Regions from separate parts of the Homo sapiens genome. Here region 1 is linked to region 2. The links are contacts of gene promoters, found by promoter capture Hi-C in human tissues and cell types (Jung and others, 2019). All regions are on one chromosome and are shown on one strand. Each heading gives the region's core, a stretch centred on a gene start or on the middle of the fragment in contact. The rest is flanking DNA. Distances are from core to core; before and after follow the strand shown.

Region 1 (4,306 bases), core at 1,245-3,744, 270 kb after region 2:
CAACACATGGAAAATTCTCCAGAATGGACCATATCTTAGGCCATAAAACAATCTCAACAAATTCAAAAATATTGAAATCATATCAAGTATCTTTTCTGACCACCATGGAATAAAACTAGAAATCAGTAAAAAAATGAATGTTAGAAAGTATGAAAACACATGGAAATTAAACAATATGCTCCTAAATGACCAAATGGTCAATGAAGAAATTAAGGAAATTAAAAAATTTCTTGAAATAAATGAAAATGGAAACATAACATACCAAAATCTATGGGATACGGCAAAAGTAGTACTAAGAGGGAAGTTTATAACAATAAGATCCTATATCAAAAATGTAGAAAGACTTCAAATCAACAAACCAACAATGCACCTCATGGAACTAGAAAAGCAAGAACAAACTAAACTCAGAACTAGTAGAAAGAAAGAAATAATAGAGATCAGAGCAGAAATAAATGTAACTGAGACCAAAACAAAACAAAACAGTTCAGAAGCAGCCTTATGGAGAGGTCTATGTGGCTAGAAACTAAAGGCCAATAGCCAGCAGAGAATTGGTGCCTTCTGCCAAGAGCCAGGTGAGTGAGCCATCTTAGATGCAAACCCCACTGCCTCATTCAAGCCTTCAGATGACTTTAGACCCTGGCTGACAGCTTAATTACAACTTCATAAGAAACTTGAAGCCAGAGTCACCCAACTAAGTCATTCCTGAATTCCTATTCACAAAAACTGATTATAAAGCCAAAGACTAAAAAACTCTTCAAACTATTTGCTTTAAATGGATGTACTTTAGTTTCTTGTTTTAAAATTATACCTCAATAGAATGAATTTTTTAAAAGCTTGATTGAGACCATGAGTGAAGAAAATATGTGAAATTACATTGTAAATTATAGATTGGCATTCAAATATGTTATTATCATTGTTTTAAGTACTTCCAGGGGTCCTTTATGTTATGTTATAGTTATGGCAACTAATAATCTGCACCTCTTTCATCAGGAGACTATTTATTCTGAAGTTATACCTACCTGGCCAGTGTACATTTAAGTTAATATTAAGTAGTCATTGCTCTACATATATGTCTGGACTAATTTCTCCAGTAGAAGAGTGGGGACTTCTGAACTGTTTGCTTGAGAACTCAGGGTTTAAACATACTATAGTTGCTACTTGACACTTTCAAAAATGGAGATAAATGAAGAAAGTATGATGGTATAATGTAACAAGTTTTGGACTTTATATCAAGGAAGCTAGGGTTCAGTCTCCACTCCAGCACAAATTCACAAAACTATCATGGAGAAATTACTCAAACTTCCCAGGATACTTTATAAATTTCTTCCTTTATAAAAGTGAAGTTATTAGACTAGGTGGTCTTAACTTCAGAATCCTTGATTGTATGAATTAGAACCCTAAAGGATTAGGGGATTATAATATATAGCGTAAAATAGCATAAATACAGCGTTAAAAGATACTTTTGTTTCTGATCTTATATGAATCTATCTCTTAGGTACTATGAAACTTCAAAGATAGAAGTTTAAAGCTGGGAGCAGGCTCATGCCTATAATCCCAATGGCTTGGGTGGCTGAGGTGGGAGGATTACTTGAGGCCAGAAGTTCAATATGAGCCTGAGCAACATAGGCCCTGCCTCTAGAAATTTTTTTCTTAAAGTTTAGTGCTTTCCTATGACCCTAGTTTTAAAAACAAGTATATTTAAGAGTTTAACGACCTGAAAGTAGCATTGGAACATTGTAGTACCAAAAAAAGAAAAATAATATGATTTTTAGACACTTGAACTTCCTGTTTCTCCTTTTAGCCATTAAAACATTTTTAGTCCCCAAATTCTGAAATTATCTGAAGTTATCTCTTAGATTACTAGATTTTTAGTCACAGTAAATAGGTACATGTGTCATAGGAATATATTTCTTTCTTAAATCTTCAAATAAAGATTTTAAAACAAATGTTTTTATACTTTTTCAAATGCTTTTATTCTTTGGTTTTGCATTTCATACCAGAAAGCTAGCTTTCCCTGATATATAGTTACATAAGAGTAGTAATCAGTGATCAGTACACATAAAAATTATTTTAAAATTTAGCTCATTATTTTCAAATTGTGCTTTCCTACACTGACATTAGCCTATGCTTAGTGCAGCTTTGGGATCATTTAGACCTAGATTCAAATCTCAGCTTTGTCACTTATCGGCCATATATAAGTTGTTCAAACTTTCTAAGCCTCAGTTTCATTTCTTTCTTTTTTCAAAATGGAGTGAAAATATCTGTCTTATGAAATTGTTCATTAAGGATTAAGTGAGCAAACACAAAAGTGCCTAGCACTGATAAATTTTTCTTTTATTCCTAAAAGTTAGCAAATTTAACAGTGCACTATTAGACCCAACAATTGGGTTTTCGTTTTAGCCCATATGAAGAACTAGTAACAGAAAGAAGATCAGTTTGCTCTCTTAATTTCCATCCTATTCCATTTGCACATAAAAGAATGGAAATAACCCACCCATTTCTTTGGCTTGATATATGGCTATTTTATATTTTTTCACATCGTTGGCACTGAATAGTTTTCATACATGGATTATTAGGTAGTCAAATCATTTTTATAAGTATACAATTTTAAACTATTTCACTAGTGCTTAAATTATTTCCATTTATTCTAGCACTAGTAACTAAATTTATAAAATATTTAATGAAAAGGCAATAATGACACTTTGTCACCAGAAAGATGCAGGTTTGAATCCCAATACTGGATGTGATCTTGGGCTAGCTGCATAATCTCTAAGCTTAAATTTCCTCGGCAATTAAATGATGATAATAATTATTTAGCATGGTACATGGAACATAAACACTCAAAAAAAGTTGTATATCATCATCATTATTAAGTGATAATAATATATTTAACCCTATATGGATTATGTATGGATTAACCTTATATGGGTTAAATCTGTAACCCATATAGATTACTCTTGGTGATTTCTAATTCTAACCACTCTAGCTGACTTTTAGTGATTTCCGATTCTAACCAGAGTTTTCAAATCTATGTGAAGAATAAACCTATTATTCAAAAGCACATACTTTGTTGATGGCAGACCAATAATATTATCTTTTTGTTACATGGAAATTTGAAGCAATAGGTTTATGTTACTAAGATTCTTGACAAACAGCTTTACCAAATTCATCATCAGTGTTGGGCTATGCCAGTCTAACTTGGTGGAAAATTTGAATCATGAAATATTTAACGTATAATAAGTACATTTGTTTACCTCCTGTGAGACTTATCACAGCGGTAAGTACATTGTAGGCAGTGTACTAATTACTTTATTAATGTTGACTTAATTTCTATATGTTGGGAGAATTAAAAATGTATAGCATTCTTCATGTACTAGCAAATGGTATTCTGAAAGTTAATAAGAAAGAAATTAATTCATTTTAACTTCTTAGAGGGTCAAAAAATTAATTCACAAATATTAAAAATCATTTTTACCAAGCCTTGTTACAGATTCTGAAAATGAGATTCAGATGAGAAGAATAATTTTCTTTGTCTCTGTTTAGCTTAGAGGACATATGCCTGTTTTTTTTGCATTTAATTTTTACACTTAGCTTTTTAAAAAATAGTTTTTTCCTTAGTACAGTAACGTGTACCTCCCTGAAAAACTTCAGGCAATTTGGAGAACAAAATAAAAATTACCCACAGTTTTGCTCCCCTGCATTACCCACTGTGAACATTTCAGTCTGTCTCTTCTAGGCTCTATTTTTTAACAATGTATGTACATCCACCCCCATAAACATGGTAGGACCATGTCTGTCTATGTTACTACATTAAACTTATAGCGCCACTTTATCAATTGCCTTATGACTTTTTCTATTAGGGTCTTAATTTTTTAGCTTATTTTTAAGTGTTCTTTTATGTCAGACATACATAACATGTCAACATATATATAGCGTATACATAACAAAGTCCTGTGACACTTATTTGTGGTACTTTTTTCCTGTCATACAAATTTTCAATTTTTATTTAGTAAAATCATTTTTTTTTCTTATTTATATGTTTTGGTATTCAGCTTAGAAAGACCTTTCACCTCAAGATTATGTAGGTATTTAAACTTTTTTTTTTAAGTTCTTTTGTGATTTTTGTTTTGTTTTTCTAGTTCTTATGTGGTTTTATTTTACATTTAACTCTTAATCCTTTGCTAAACGCTTAAAGTACTTTGAAGGCCTAATCTAGGAAGTAGGAAAATACAGTTGTCCCTCAGTATTCACAATGAGGATTGGTTCCAGGGCATCCCCCACCTCCCAGCAGACAGCAAAATCTTTG
Region 2 (4,708 bases), core at 79-2,578:
CTGCCTTCTTGGCTGTTCTTTTTGTCTTCTTTGCTGACTTCACTCTCTCTACCTGACGTTTAAATGTTAAATTTCTCAGGTCTCTAATCCTTGGTTCTCAACTCCTCATTCTGCACGCTCTCCCTTGGTGATTTCAACCCCACTCCTGGCTTCAATTACTATAAATCTGCCAAAATTTATACATCTAACCCCTACTGCCATTCTTAGCCCAGAACTGTTTATCTAAAGCATATCTCACATCTCAATTTCTCTCACAGGTACTTCAAGGTCAATTAGTACATAACTGAACTCTTAATCTTGCCCTGATATCCTGTTGCTCCTGACAGAAATGTGGTTCTGACTTGGACACAACCTTCTTTTTCAACATATCCCCAATCTGTCACCAACAGGCAACCTCATTATTTTTCAAATCTGTCCACAGTCCCTGAGCCCCACCTCCACTGCCACTACTGTAGGCTAATCCTTTGGGATGAAATTCAAAATCATTACTCAGCAGCCTGCATGATCTGTCCATCGCGCACCTCAGCAGCTCGGTTTGTGCCCACATCTCTCTTGTTCTCTAAGCAGGGTTTTGCGGTTTCTCAACCATTTCAACTTTGTTCTCACTTCAATTCTTTCTCTCCTGCTGTTCCCTGTTCCTGAAAAGCTACTTGTCCAGTCCTTTGCTTGGGTAGCTCTTTTCCATCTTCTAGGCTCGGAGGGGAAAAGGGCACTTCCTTAGGCAGCCTTTCCTAGCCCTGGGCTAGGTTAGCTTTCATTCGAGTGCTGTCATTCCATCTAATATTGGCACACTGTTAAATATAGCTGTGAGATGATCTGTTCAACTGTAAGCTCCTTGGGGTTTCGTGTCTGCCCTGTTTTCTAGGGTTTCCAGCTTGTAGCTGGGTGCCTGACTCATAATAGGTGTTCCATAAATGCTTGTTGAATGAAAGAATGATGATGGAGGTGGTATTCCAACTCGGGACTGCCTCAACGCCCGGCGCTGTCTCCTCTGCTACTCTGTTTCGGTGTTTTAGCAGAGGCAGATAGTGAGGGCGGCACAGTGCCCACGGCATGCCGCTGGACTAAGCGCTAAGCGGGCTTGGGATGATGCGCACGCGGGGGGTCTGAGCCAGCCAAGGGGCCGGGCGCCGCCTGGGGGCGCTGCGGCTGCTGCGGGACGCACCAGGCCTAGTCGCCCGCAGGCTCCGCCCGAGGAGCAGCCCAGCCACCCCAGGGCCCGGAGGACCAACCGCTTCGACCCGCGCCCGGGCGGCGGCAGTGTTGGCCGGCGAGGCGAGGAGGGCCGGGCCGCCACGGTGGGGCGAAAAGCCCTGAAAGTTCCTCTCAGTTCCTTCCGGTGCGCCTCCCGCTCGCCCTTGCGGAGGCCCTGAGGGCGGATTCAAGGCCCCGCGAGAAGCCATCTGAGGCGGCGACGACTGTTCTCAGCCCCACGGGAACGCCGCGGACGCAGCGTCCCTCTCCCGGACAAGAAAACAGCCATTCTAGAGTAGGTTCCTCCCCTTTCCTTGTTTTTTCCCCTTTCCCGTGCCCATGGCTGACGCGAGCTGCTTTTGGACGTGGGTCCCGGGCTTGACTGGACAGACGTGGGTTCTGTTTCTGAAAGGCGTAAAACCTCAGACTTGTCCTGCAACCTCCTGGTCTCCGTTTTTGCCTCTATAAAGTGGGCATAACAAGGTCTGACTCACTGACCTGGGGTCTCAGGTGTGGCGCCCAAACCAGCACTATCAGCATTTCCTGTAACTTTACTAAAACGCATATTTTCTGGCCCCACTACAGCTCATTGAATCAGAAACTCAGTGGTGGGATTCAGCGATTTGTATTTGAACAAGCCCCAGGTGATTTTGATACAAGCTAAATTTTGAGAACCACTATATAATAGAGACCAATCAGATGAAATAAATCAAACCATTATATAGTAAAGAACCTGGCTCAATAAATAGTAGTTGTGGTTATTATTATTTCAGGAATAGACAGGCATTCATTGGCACAGAAATTGAAGGTTAAGCAAATGCTTCTTTCCTTTTCTTTTTCTTTTTTTTTTCTTTTTTTGAAACAGTGTTTTTCACACTTGTTGCCCAGGCCACCGCAACCTCCGCCTCCTGGGTTCAGCCTCCTGTCTCAAGCCCCGCGAGTAGCTGAGATTACAGGCATGTACGACCACGTTTGGCTAATTTTGTATTTTTAGTAGAGACGGAGTTTCTCCATGTTTGTCAGGCTGTTCTCGAACTCCTGACATCAGTTGATCTGCCCGACTTGGCCTCCCAAAGTGCTGGGATTACACGCATGAGCCACTGCGCCCCACCCTTTTCTTTTCTTTCATGCAGGTCAGTATAGTCTTGCTTTAAAAAACTGAAAACAAAATAAATATCCATATGATTTGGATATTTATCCCCTCCAAATCTCATGTTAAAATAGATTCCCCAATGTTGGAGGTAGGGCTTGGTGCGAGGTGTTTGGATTATGGGGGTGGATCCCTCATGAATGGCTTGGTGCTTTCCTGGCAGAGTGAACTCTACCTCTGAGCTCATGAAAGATCTGGTTGTTTAAGAGTAGACACCTCCCCTTTCTCTCTATTGTTCCGTCTCTTACCATGTGACACACTGGCTCCCCTTCCCCTTCCGCCATGATTGTAAGCTTGGTCTCACAAGAAGCTGAGCAGATGCTGGTGCCATGCTTGTACAGCCTGCAGAATTGTGAGCCAAATAAACCTCTTTTCTTTATAAATTATGCAGTCTCAGGTATTCCTTTATAGCAACACAAACAGACTAACACGAACATATACAAAAGAATGCCTCTCCAACAACAAAATAGGTATGTAACAGTAGCTTCTCACAGATAAACTTAACGTTTCTTTTTGACATACATCTTCTTGTCTTTTGAATTCTTTGAAAAGCAGAACATGGTTAATGATAAAGGTTTTATAATTTTAATTATTTTAATTCAAATTTCAGTTTTCATATACTGCAGTTATTTTTAATTTGAAAACTATAATGGTTGACCATGAAAAATTAATCTTATGTAGGTGAAAGGTACAGATTTATTTCTAGACAAATCCAGTTTCATTGGCATGTCAGATTTTATTGATAATCTTTTCCTTCTTATTCATTGCAGAAGCTTCAAAAAGGACACACTAGATTTAATTAGAAATGTTAAGATTGCCCAAAAAAGGATTACCTAGATTTGAGCAAGTTCAGGATGAAGACACCTACCTGGAAAATTTAGCAATACAAAGAAATGCATCTGCTTTTTTTGAAAAATATGATCGGAGTGAAATACAAGAGTTACTAACTACTGCACTAGTTAGCTGGTTGTCTGCCAAAGAGGATGTGCGCTCTCAAGTAGACCTCCCATGTGGAATTATGAGTCAAATGAATAACGTAGGCTTCTCCACTGCAATCCTACTGACTCCCGTGGACCCTACTGCCCTCTTAGACTATAGAGAGGTCCATCAAATGATAAGAGAGTTGGCTATTGGAATTTATTGCCTAAATCAAATCCCTTCCATCAGTTTAGAAGCTAATTATGATCAGAGTTCTTCTTGTCAATTACCTCCAGCTTATTATGATACCAGAATTGGGCAAATTCTGATCAATATTGACTACATGCTGAAAGCACTATGGCATGGAATATATATGCCCAAAGAAAAACGAGCTAGATTCTCTGAATTGTGGCGTGCCATCATGGACATTGATCCTGATGGAAAACCTCAAACAAATAAAGACATTTTTTCAGAGTTTAGTTCAGCAGGTAAGAGAATTTAACACTTCTTAAATTTTTTTTTTTTTTTTTTGGAACAGAGTCTTACTACGTCACCCAGGGTGGTCACGAACCCCTGAGCTCAAGCCATTCACCCACCTAGGCCTCCCAAAGTGCTAGGATTACAGGCATGAGCCGCTGCACCTGGCCACTTCTTAATTATTTTTATTCAATGCCATTTTTAAAATTTTTAAATTTTATTTCGATAGTTTTTGGGGGAACAGGTGGTTTTTGGTTACATGGCTAAGTTCTTTAGTGGTGATTTCTGAGATTTTGGTGCACCCATCACCTGAGCAGTGTACACTGTACCCCATGTGTAGTCTTTTATCCCTCATTTTCTTCCTACCTTTCCTCTAGAATCCCCAAAGTCCATTATATCATTCTTATGCCTTTGCGTCCTCATAGCTTAGCTCCCACTTATAAGGGAGAACATAAAATATTTGGCTTGCCATTCCTGAGTTACTTCACTTAGAATAATGGTCTCCAACCCCATCCATGTTTCTGTGAATGCCATTATTTAATTCATTTTTATGGCTGAGTAGTATTTCATGGTATATATATTTTCTTTCTTTCTTTTTTTTTTTTTCTTTTTTGGAGATGGGGTCTCCCTGTGTTGAACAGGCTGGCCTCGAACCCCTGGCCTCATATGATCATCCCATCTTGACTTCCTAGAGTGCTAGGATTACAGACATGTGCCACTGCACCTGGCCACCACGTATTCTTTATCTACTCATTGGTTGATGGGCCTTTAGACTGGTTCCATGTTTTTGCAATTGTGAATTGTGCTGCTATAAACATGCATGTGCAAGTGTCTTTTTCATATAGTGACTTCTTTTCCTCTGGGTAGATACCTGGTAGTGGGATTGCTGGATCAAATGGTAGTTCTACATTTAGTTCTTTAAAGAATCTCTATACTGTTTTCCATAGTGGTTGTGCTAGTTTACATTAC

What was found. Contacts are between HindIII fragments. The study calls those that stand out against the background at their distance.
Region 1: a fragment that was not itself captured here is called in contact with the fragment with the promoter of ANKAR in region 2 in 1 of the 25 tissues and cell types used here (IMR-90 fibroblasts).

Annotation. Positions count from the first base shown.
Region 1 is chr2:189,944,804-189,949,109 of GRCh38, forward strand. It overlaps a transcript of AKAP19 not described here. Among named protein-coding and RNA genes, the nearest start is that of MSTN, 120 kb to the right of the region's middle. The HindIII fragment of the contact is 4,576 bases long and covers 207-4,306 here.
Region 2 is chr2:189,673,342-189,678,049 of GRCh38, forward strand. ANKAR (ankyrin and armadillo repeat containing) reads left to right here and starts at 1,329. Exons shown (of 23, transcript NM_001378068.1): 1 at 1,329-1,489; 2 at 3,115-3,750. The coding sequence starts at 3,150. LOC105373793 (a long non-coding RNA gene) reads right to left here and starts at 944. Exons shown (of 2, transcript XR_923692.3): 1 at 490-944; 2 at 1-52. RefSeq lists a silencer at 985-1,404 and an enhancer at 1,455-1,714. The HindIII fragment of the contact is 7,879 bases long and covers 1-2,877 here.